3 separate regions of the Homo sapiens genome follow, and regions 1 and 2 are each linked to region 3. The links are contacts of gene promoters, found by promoter capture Hi-C in human tissues and cell types (Jung and others, 2019). All regions are on one chromosome and are shown on one strand. Each heading gives the region's core, a stretch centred on a gene start or on the middle of the fragment in contact. The rest is flanking DNA. Distances are from core to core; before and after follow the strand shown.

Region 1 (3,195 bases), core at 203-2,702, 180 kb before region 3:
TCCTCAGGAAGTCCAGGTGGGGGTGGGCTGCACTCTGTTATTCTTCCATTCCCATCCCCTAGCCGGAGCCATCAGCCTGACCCTGAAAGGCAGAGAGAGCTGCCAGCACCCTGGTTTCCTGGAGCTCAGAGCTCCCAGAGTGAGCCCTTGAGTCACTCTGACCCAATTCCCAGTCTGAGATCAGGGCTTCTTTCTGCTCTCTGGAGGAACTGTTCCTAGATGCCCCTGCCAACACATGGCCACCTCTGCGGCCAGGCCCAGGAGGGTCTCTATGTCCACAACTTGTCCCTATCTCTGGCCAGCCCATTTCACCTGCTCCTTCAGCTCCACCTGGAGCCTGGACAGGTCATTCATCAGTCCCAGCTGGGATCCATATTTCTTACACAGCCATGGCCTCTGGGATCTTAGACTCCACCTCACTCATACTGTGTCACAGCAGTCTAAGTGGGGATGCACAGTCCTGCCCTTGGGACCCCCATTCTGCTGGGAAACAGAGACCTGCCGTTAGAAACCTCAGTTTGTGGGCACGCCCTGATCATTTCTCCCAAATCTGGAAAGTGAAGGCTGGGGGAGATGTTTCCAGGGAAGGCGGAAGTAGCAAGGGATAGAATCTTCTGGGAACTGTTGAGGAGAGGAATAGCAAGGGGACTGCAGTGTGGATAGAGGCCAGGCTAGAGGCCGGAGACTTGAGATGTCATCTTGCTCTGCCTTGACCTAGAGTAACAGGCCCCTTTCTGGGCCTGTTTCCCCATCTGGAAAAGAGAGAAGCAGAGGACTCTTGGGGCCAATGCAACCAGGACGTTTTTCTTGCAACAACCAGGGGCGGGATGGATTGGGGTCTGTCTGGGTAGCTCAGCCAGAGGGAGCCCAGGACTTGGCAGTCTGGCAGGGACTGTGGGACAGAAAGTGAGGAGCGAGACCTTAGCTGGCTGCCAGGGTTGGAGTGGCAGGCTTGGGAACCTGCCTAATGGGGCTGGGAGGGCAGCTGACTCTCTGTCCTTAGAGGGGTGATGGCCCTGTCCCTGGGGCAGTAAGCCCAGTGGGTGGAGCAAGCTCAGCTCCTGTTCCAAAGGCCTCCAGGCTTCCAGGGTTTATGAGAGTGGGTCTCCCCACTCCACCACCAACCCCACCCTTAGGACACACACATGGTGGTAGTCAGCAACTGAGAAAGGTATTTGGGTTGAACCTCCAAGAAGAAGCACCTGTCCTGCCACTGCCTTATGCAGACCTTGCTGGCCACATACACCATCTTGGTTGGGGTTAAAAGTCAAATGCAAACTGAGGTCTACCACATGACCTTGGGGAACTCTTTTGTCTTCCACTCCTATTATAAGGTTCTAAAGCTGCATTTACCACTAGCCACGTATAGCTGTTTAAGTTCATTTAAATGAAGTAAAATCTAAAATTCAGCTCCTCAGTCTCATTAGTCACATTTCAAATTGTTCCACAGCCACAGGGAGAGCACAGATTATGGAATATTTCCATTATCATAGAAAGTTCCATTGGACATTGCTCTTTTAAAAGATGGCATTGGCCTCTGTCTTGGGGTTGGATCATGAGCTCCATGGGGACAGGGATCACACTTGTGTTGTTTCCTGCCATGTCCACCACGGTGTCTCTCAGATGGTAACCACTCAATGTTGTCAACTGATTGGAGCCCAGGACTGACCCCAGGAAGAAGAAATGGGGTTGAGTACATGACCCACGGATGATCAGGAGAGGCAAGAATGCAAGGTGCATTTATGAGCCTTGACCTCAATTTGAGCCCCTCATTTTTAATTTGTAAAGTGGGAATCAGGACCCCAGGACTGCTCAGGACACAGAGATGTGGTGGGATTCTCTGGGTATCTGTAAATCCCTTGGGCACTCATATTCTGATCCTCCCTAGGGACTATAAAGGTCCAGCTGCTGTCTGGGGTGGCGGGTACCTATAGTCCCAGCTACTTGGGAGGCTGAGGCAGGACAATTGCTCGAACCTGAGAGGTGGAGGTTGCAGTGAGCTGAGATCACACCACTGCACTCCAGCCTGGGCAACAAGAGTGAAACTCCATCTCAGAAAAAAAAAAAAAAAAAAAAGAGGGGGAAAGTATGACCTGATGTGAGAAAGCCCAGGTGGGGCAAAGCTAGGGGATTGGAAGAGGGGAATGGAAAGAGAAGTAGGGGTCTGTTGTGAAGGGCTTTCTATTTCCACACTAGAGGCTGCCAGCCATATTCTGAGAATAGTGTGCACCACTAAAGAGGGGGGCTGTGGTCAGATCTGAACTTTAGAAAAATCCCCTGACAGCAGCATGAATGACAGATTAGAGAATGTGACAGATGATGATGGCCTGAACGAAAGAAGTGGGTGGATTCTAGTAGAGTTGACTCATTTCGGTAATCGATTGATGAGGAAGGGAGTTGAGGCTGACTTCCCAGCTTCTGCTTCAGTAATGAGTGGATAGTGGTTCTAAGCCTTGCTATGAGTTACAGGGAGAAGGGATCAGGTTTGGGAGGGGAGAAGGTGATGGGAATTCAGCCTTGGGAATGTTAACTTTGAGAGGCTGTTAGTCAACTGGGGCAGTTAGATGGATGTATGAATCTGGAGCTCAGGAGACAGATCTGGGTTGCAGATACATTTTTTATATAAATTGTCATATTTATGGGCATCATTTCTTCCTAAGGGCATGCAGCTCTTATTTTACAATGGAAACCAACTGAGATCATCTCCAGCATCAGTCACACGTTGGCCACATACATTGGCTTCATTTTTTTCTTGTGTCCAGATGCCTGGCTAGATTGCAAACTCCCAAGGGCATGGCCCTCCCTCCATCAGATTGTGCTTCCAGCAAGGGAGCCAGCACCTCTCTCAACCCCCATCTGGGTCCGTCATAGATGGGGTCCTGACCTAAGTCCACATCTGCTCAAGGCTGGGCCTCTTTAGGTAGAGACTGGGTCTGGGTCTTCTCCATGTCCTCACTACCCAGGGAGACTCACACATGTGAGCCTGCCTCAGGGGCAGTCATCTGAGTGACAACCCCTTCTCCCATACCTCTGCAGCCCAAGCCTCAGAATGCAGTCACCATCGCTGTGTCCTCCCGAGCCTTGTTTCGCATGGACGAGGAGCAGCAGATCTACACGGAGCAGGGCGTGGAGGAGTACGTGCGCTACCAGCTGGAACATGAGAACGAACCCTTCAGTCCCGGGCCAGCCTTCCCT
Region 2 (3,031 bases), core at 414-2,913, 150 kb before region 3:
AACTCCATACCCTCTATTTAACTGTGCACTGTATTTTGATGATCCAAGACATCTCACATGAAACGTCCATCACGGGGCCCTTGACCTTCCCCTGCAAATCTGCTCCTCTTCCAATCTTTGCTATCTCAGCCAATTACACAGGGCAGCTATCTGGGAGGCTTCCTTGACTTCCGCCTTTCCAGGGAATGCATAACACATTGTGCAACTTCTCTGTTAGTTGAGGTTTCCACTGACTGGCATGTGCCCACAGAAGTGATGTGAGTGCTGAGGGCATTTGGAATGAGAGTCCATAGTTGTGGCTGGGGCGACCACCAGGGCTTCCTGGTACTGATTGCTCACGACAGTTGCGCCTACCAGTATATATTTGTAAGTCTGTCCGTGTGTATGTGTTTGCATACCTGGCCAAATGGTTGTGTCTGTGGATGTGTGTGGACGGGGGCACAGGAACATTCTTTCCCATCAAGTAATCAAGTGTCCCCCAGCAAGCAGGCCTTGCTGTGGGGATGGAAGCACAGTTATTCTCAGATGACCAACCCGATTCTCCCACTTGAAGGGGTGGCTTCCCTCAGGTCCTGACCTGGTGGCGGGTAAAAAGGAAAAGACCTCTCATATCTAACCCAGCACACCAAGACCTCCTCTATCTCCTCTTCCCTGCCCAAGAAGTCCAGCTCCAGGATGCTCTCATGCAGCTTCCTTTGGAGCCTTAGGAGCTTCTCTGAGGTACTGGGCGCCTGAGGATGACCGGTGAATCTGAGAACTTCCCACAAGTCCCCCTAAGGACAGGGCAGCTAGAGCCCTCCCTGAGTGAACAGTTTGATGGGTTGCCAGAAGCAGAGGCCCCAGGAAGAGAGGCTGGAAGGTATCTTCCCTTTTCCTCTCCTTCTCCCACTTTGAGGCCCTGCCATAGCGTCTAGAAGGAGCCCTTTCCTGGCCTCCTGGCCGCCCAGGACAACTCGACCTCTGGTGAACTGGGAACTGATTCCCAGGGACAACCCACCACTGCCACCACGCCAGGCCTTTAGGGACCTCGGCCAGAGCCCAGCTTTCTCAGATGCGGTGGCCACAACTTCAGCCGTCCCTTTTGGGGGTGACTGCCACCTCTCAGAAGTGTAAGTGTCTTCCCCTTGCCCCCACCACACTATTCCACTTGCTTTGGGCCCCTATGGAGTTGCTGCTGGGGAATTCTTGCTGAGGATCAGGCCACAACCACCACGACTAACTTCGACAAACTTGATGTGTCTGCTGCCTCCAGAACACCAGGAGGCAGGAGCGCGCAGGGTTGACCCTTGCGGAATCCCGGGCATCGAAGCGGCGCCTCTACAGGCCAGCAGCGCCCAGGCGACCCAGGGACAGACGGGGACTCCTGGCTTCCCCGCGGGGCCTCCCAGGGCACCTGCCCAAGGCCACCCAGCGCGCGGCAGCCGAGACAGCGGAGCAGAGCCGGACCTCCCAGCCGTCGATGAAGGCGGCGACCGCCTAGGGCCTTCCCACGGCTCGGCGGCGCGTCACCGCGGGGGCGAGGGGGCGCCTGGGCGCCCGGAGCTGCGGCGCAGGAAAGGGCCCTGGGAAAGGGCGGTGGCGGCGCCCCCGAGGCGGGGCCGGGGCGGGGCCGGGGCGGGGCCTGACTTCCCGACTGGGAGCCTTAGCCGCGGGGCTGAGACCAGGCAGCCTGCGTTCGCCATGAAGCGACCCAAGGAGCCGAGCGGCTCCGACGGGGAGTCCGACGGACCCATCGACGTGGGCCAAGAGGGCCAGCTGAGGTAAGGGCCGGGATGCGGGGACCGAGCAGGCGGAGGGCGAGCGGGGTGGGGGTCGGCCCGACGGGCTCGCCGAGCAGGCGGGCCAGCCCTCCAGCACCGCCTGGGCAGAGGCAGGTGAGCGCGGGGGCCACAGGTGTCGGCGTAGGGGGCGTGTGCGGGCCGTGCCGTTACACGCACGAGTGCCTGGATCCTGCGCGCTCTCGGTCGTGCAGGGCTGGGGATGCTGGCAGGGAGGGAGAGTTCAGCTCGGGGGATCAGGTGGCTAGTGGGTTATCATCTATCTGTTGAAGTGGCCTAGGGGAGGCCATTGGCAGGTTTTCCCTGGAGATCTTAGAAAACTCTCATAGACTGATGGTACTCTGGCCCCTGTCTGGAATCTGCTGACGATGCAGAGTAACCCCATCCTTTCCCAATTTTACCCTAGTTTGGATGCAGTTTTCATGTAGTCCACAAATTATTTCAGGAAGAAGAAAATTTGTCCTCCTTTGAGCAAATTGGAGTTTGGATTTAGGGACTTAGTATTGAAGAAAATAATAAGCGACTTGCAAGGGCCTAGACTCTAATTCCAATGTTCCTCCTATCGTGCCCCCATACTGCCAGTGTCTTTCAGCTCCTGGTAGATAGTCTGACCTGCTTCAAACCTGTCGAACAAACTGCGCTTGTATAGTTCTGCTACCTCGCAGTTCTGTAAACTGTCTAAGCTTCAGTTTCCTTATCTGTTAAATGAGCATGAATAATAGAACCAACTTCATGGAAATATTGGGAAAACCAAATGAGGCAAAGTATGTCAAGGGCTTAGCACAGCACATGCCTAGGTACACACCATGTGATTCCCAGCACCCTGAAAGAGCTGCAGGGCTGACTGGGAGTCTGCAGACCTGGGTCCCAGCCCCAAATCTGCCACCAACTCACTATGTGGTCTTGGGCCATTGGTTTCCCTGACAGAGTCTGTCATCAGTTTCCCCATCAGTAAAACAAAGACAGCAGTGGAAAAGAAAGGGATATACTTCATCTCTCTTGGCTCATCTAGACTTGACTCTCTAGAACAGAATTGGAGGGGAATTCAGTTAATTCTTTCTTTCTTTCTTTTTGACATGGTCTCACTCTGTTGCCCATGCTGGAGTGCAGTGGCATGATCATAGCTCATGGCAACCTTGATCTCCTGGGCTTAAGTGATCCTCCTGCCTTGGCCTCCCAAAGTGTTGGGATTACAGACATAAGCCAGTGAGCCAGGCCCAGTTAATTCTTAGGGATGTTTTTGAGGACATTTT
Region 3 (3,540 bases), core at 429-2,928:
TGGCTGTTATCAGGGTTGTCGGGAGGATGAAGAATTAATGATGCTGTCTGTGGAGGGAGGCTGGTGGCTGGGGCAGGTACCCACTCCCTGCTCTCAGCCCCACAGCTCCCCCACTTCGGGCTGAGCTGTGGTCCTTGGCTCCCAGACCCCGGCCTGTCACTAGCCACAGACAGGAGGCAAAGCAGACGGGGGACCTGACCAACAGTAACTACACGAGCATAGACCAAAGAGTTTAGTACTGGAAAAGAAAAATCTGAGATCTTAAGGAATAAATAGCTCCAGGGTTTGATACAAGATGTTTGCAGACAGGAAAAGCCCGGCTTTGCCTGGGAGAACACAGTGGGTCCAGCTGCCCACTGGGCCATTCCACAGGACCGGACACTCACCCTATACCAGGCCACATGCTAAGTGCAGGGCCCAGGGTGACAAGGCCACAGTCCCTGCCCCAGCGAGCTGAGTCTGCTCCTTCCCCAGCCGCTCCCCTGACAGCCGCACCCCACCCAGGCTCCGCACAGGGAAGAGCCTGCTGTGGACTCAGGGCACGCGACTCAGCTCTGGTCACTCCGATGATGTGACCACAGGTTTCCACGCTGAACTTTGTCCCTCTCCTCAGTACTGTCCTTATCACAGTGACAGCATCCCGGCCTCTGTTTACTCACCTGTCTCCCCAGGACCAGGCTGTCTTCCCGGGGCAGCCCAGGTGGGCAAAGACATCACCTAATTCTTACTCCTGGGTGTGTCTGGGGCAGGGTGAAGGCAGCGCCTGGGAGTCCACAGTCCCCCACACTCTGCTCCTGACCACCCCGCAGCCCAGGGGGCCCCCATGACCCTTAGACCTTCCCTAACCACGGCGGTCCCACTCCCCTGTGGTTCGCGTCCACCGTCTGTGATTCCCCGTTCGGCCAGGGCCCGGCACCGCCCGCGGATGCGCGCCCCTCCCCTGCAGCCAGCTTACTCCGAGGGTCCCCGCGCGGGCGGCCGCACTCACCCATGTTGACGAAGCTCATGACCAGGTCGGCGCGGCCCAGGCGCTGCTCCGCGGGCGCGCCGTCCTCGTCGTCGTCGCCAGCCATGGCGTGGTACAGGTCCAGCATGAAGAGCGGCGCGGACGCGGGCAGCCGGGAGGCGGCGGGTGGCGCGCGGGGCCGGGGCCGCCCGGGTAGCCCGAGCACCGCCAGGATCTCGCGCTGCACGTCCCGGCGCTCGCGCGCGCCCAGACGTCGCTGGGGACAGCCGGGCGGGGGTCGCAGGCCGGGGCCGCCCCCGCCCAGCGCGCACAACGTCAGGCCCAGAAGCCAGAGCGGTCCGGGGCGCGCGGCCATGGCGGGCCGGGGGCGCTCAGCGGGCGCACATCAGCTCCGCCGCCGCCCCTGGGCCCGGGGACGCCCCGACGGCGAACGGGGAGCTGAGTTCGGCGAGCAGGGGGCGGGGCTCGGCGGGCGGCGTCTGCGGCCTCAGCGCGGTCCCTGGAGCGCCCCCCGCGCGCACCTGCCCCGGCTCCGGGACAAGCGGACGCTGACGCGGACGCAGACGCCAACGCTTCGAGGCCGGGGCTGTTCTGAGGGCTGGGACTGTCAGCCAATCCGTCTGTCGCCGCCGTTCCCACCAGTCCGGCTGTGGCTGCGGTCCGCGCAGCGCAGGGGCGACCGGCGAGCTCCGGCAGCGACCCGGGCGGCGCGATTCCCGCGAGTCCTTGCCCCGGCTCAGCCGTCTGTGCCGCCCGCCCACCCCCGGGACTGACCAATGGGGGCGCGGGGGCGGGGCCTGGGCGCGGAGGCCGCGCCCGCTAGGAGCCCCGGGCGGCGGCAGGTGTTGCGGGTGGGGCGACCCCGAGGTGCGACCTCGGCGTGGCTGGCGGTTGGTCCGGGCGAGGAGCCCGCAGCCTGGGCGTCAGCGTGGTCAGGGCCGTCGTGGCTCCCGCCGCGGGCCTCGGCGCAGAGATCCTAAGGCCGCGGCGCCGTCCCGGTCCCGCCAGTGGTGCCACCCGGCTGCCTCGCCGTGGTGTGCCGTGGTCGCCACCGGGCCCGACACGCGGCCGTAGCCCCGTCTGGAGAGCCGGGCGGTGCCAGCCAAGCCCCGCGGGTGGGGCCTGTTCCTCTGCCCGCAGCAGCCGGCCCGGGTTCCGGCCACCGCGGCCCCTCACCGCCTCCTGGCGCCTTCCCCGTGGCCCCTGCATGCGCTTCTGCGGGCGCCTCCTTCTCGGCACCTGCTCGGCTGCTTCTCCCTGCGTCCCCCACCTGGCTCCCGCGTGAGCCCAGGCAGCGCCCCAGTCGGGCCGCCCCCGCCAGCCCTAGCTGTGCGCCCTGCGTCCCCGGTACTGATCCAGCTTTGCGGAGGAGGCTCCGCCTCCTGCCTCCAGCTGGGCCAGAAGCTCTGGGGCCCTTCCCGAGCACTCGGGAGCCACCTGTGCACATCTTCTCAGTCCCCACGGCCCCGGTGCAGGCCTGCCAAGAGAAGGATCCCCGCGGAAACGTCTCGACTGACTCAGTCCCTTTCTGCACACCTGCTCTTCCCTGGGCGCGCTCTCGCCTTACTTATTCCTGTGTGGTTCAGGCGCTGCGGAAGGAGAAGGCACCTAGACTGCACTGGGAAGGCTCCTGGAGTTGACCTGGAGCGCCAGGAAAGGTCAGTGGAGGAAAGTGCTCCAGGCAGAGGGAATAGCTTGTGCCAAGGCCCTGAGACCCCGGCTGGGGAGCCTAATAATGGCAACAGTCAGCACTTGCCACGCCAAGGCATGTTCTGAGTGTGTGTCTCGTGTCATTTCTGTGATGCTCGCACATCGTTAGGGGGTACATACCACTGGAACCTCCTCTTTTAATAAATGAGGAAACTGAGGCACACGGCGGTTAAGGGACTTACGCCAGGTCACACAGCAGTGGAGCTGCGCTCGGGCAGGGGGGCAGTGGAAACTGGAGAGCCCAGGGGGCAAACGGCGGAGGCTGGAGGGGCTGGCAAGGGAGGCACCGCAAAGGGCCTCACAGGGGCTAGACGAGGGCCCTGGGCACCAGAGATTATGGTGCCCCGCCATGTGGATTGAAGATTAAACCTCGAAGCAAGTGTATAATGCCCCCAAAAATCACATTTGGAAGTCATCACTTCAATAAAATTTTCTACAACAAATTCTTAATCTAAATAGTCATTTGCTGGTGCCTTAAACACACGCCTAGTTTGTCTTTTACCCAACAGGTATATTTCCACACTGCTCGTAAATTTTCTGCGCGGTCCCCAGAGCGCCCCCCATGAGGCACCTGCATCAGCTCCGGGCAGAGCAGATGTGGATGCCACCGCCTAGAAGCCGGGGCTACCCTGCGGACTGGGACTGTCCCATAAGGATACTGAGCTAAGGATAATGCAGAATAACCGTTGAAAGTACCCAAGACCAGAGCTTGGAAGCAGAGCGGAATATGGATCAGAGGGAGACAGGAGTCAGGGCCCTGCAGTTGGAGGCAGGTACAGCAATCAGATGTGGGGGTGGGTACAATGACCATGAGTCTCTAATGGTGATGGGGTGGAGGGGCAGAGGAGAAAGCTGTTTAGGAG

The links. Contacts are between HindIII fragments. The study calls those that stand out against the background at their distance.
Region 1: a contact is called between a fragment that was not itself captured here and the fragment with the promoter of BMP8A in region 3, in 1 of the 25 tissues and cell types used here (hippocampus).
Region 2: a contact is called between the fragment with the promoter of HEYL here and the fragment with the promoter of BMP8A in region 3, in 1 of the 25 tissues and cell types used here (small bowel).

The regions. Positions count from the first base shown.
Region 1 is chr1:39,666,078-39,669,272 of GRCh38, reverse strand. NT5C1A (5'-nucleotidase, cytosolic IA) reads left to right here. Exons shown (of 6, transcript NM_032526.3): 2 at 3,037-3,195. Among named protein-coding and RNA genes, the nearest start is that of NT5C1A, 4.4 kb to the left of the region's middle. The HindIII fragment of the contact is 5,410 bases long and covers 1-3,195 here.
Region 2 is chr1:39,638,275-39,641,305 of GRCh38, reverse strand. It overlaps HEYL (hes related family bHLH transcription factor with YRPW motif like), which reads left to right and starts at 1,663. Exons shown (of 5, transcript NM_014571.4): 1 at 1,663-1,760. The coding sequence starts at 1,681. RefSeq lists silencers at 1,307-1,696, 1,817-1,886. The HindIII fragment of the contact is 11,489 bases long and covers 1-3,031 here.
Region 3 is chr1:39,489,774-39,493,313 of GRCh38, reverse strand. BMP8A (bone morphogenetic protein 8a) reads right to left here and starts at 1,678. Exons shown (of 7, transcript NM_181809.4): 1 at 989-1,678. The coding sequence starts at 1,322. It overlaps LOC124904101 (a long non-coding RNA gene), which reads left to right and starts at 1,766. Exons shown (of 2, transcript XR_007065978.1): 1 at 1,766-2,625; 2 at 3,187-3,540. RefSeq lists silencers at 1,350-1,449, 1,550-2,179. The HindIII fragment of the contact is 32,682 bases long and covers 1-3,540 here.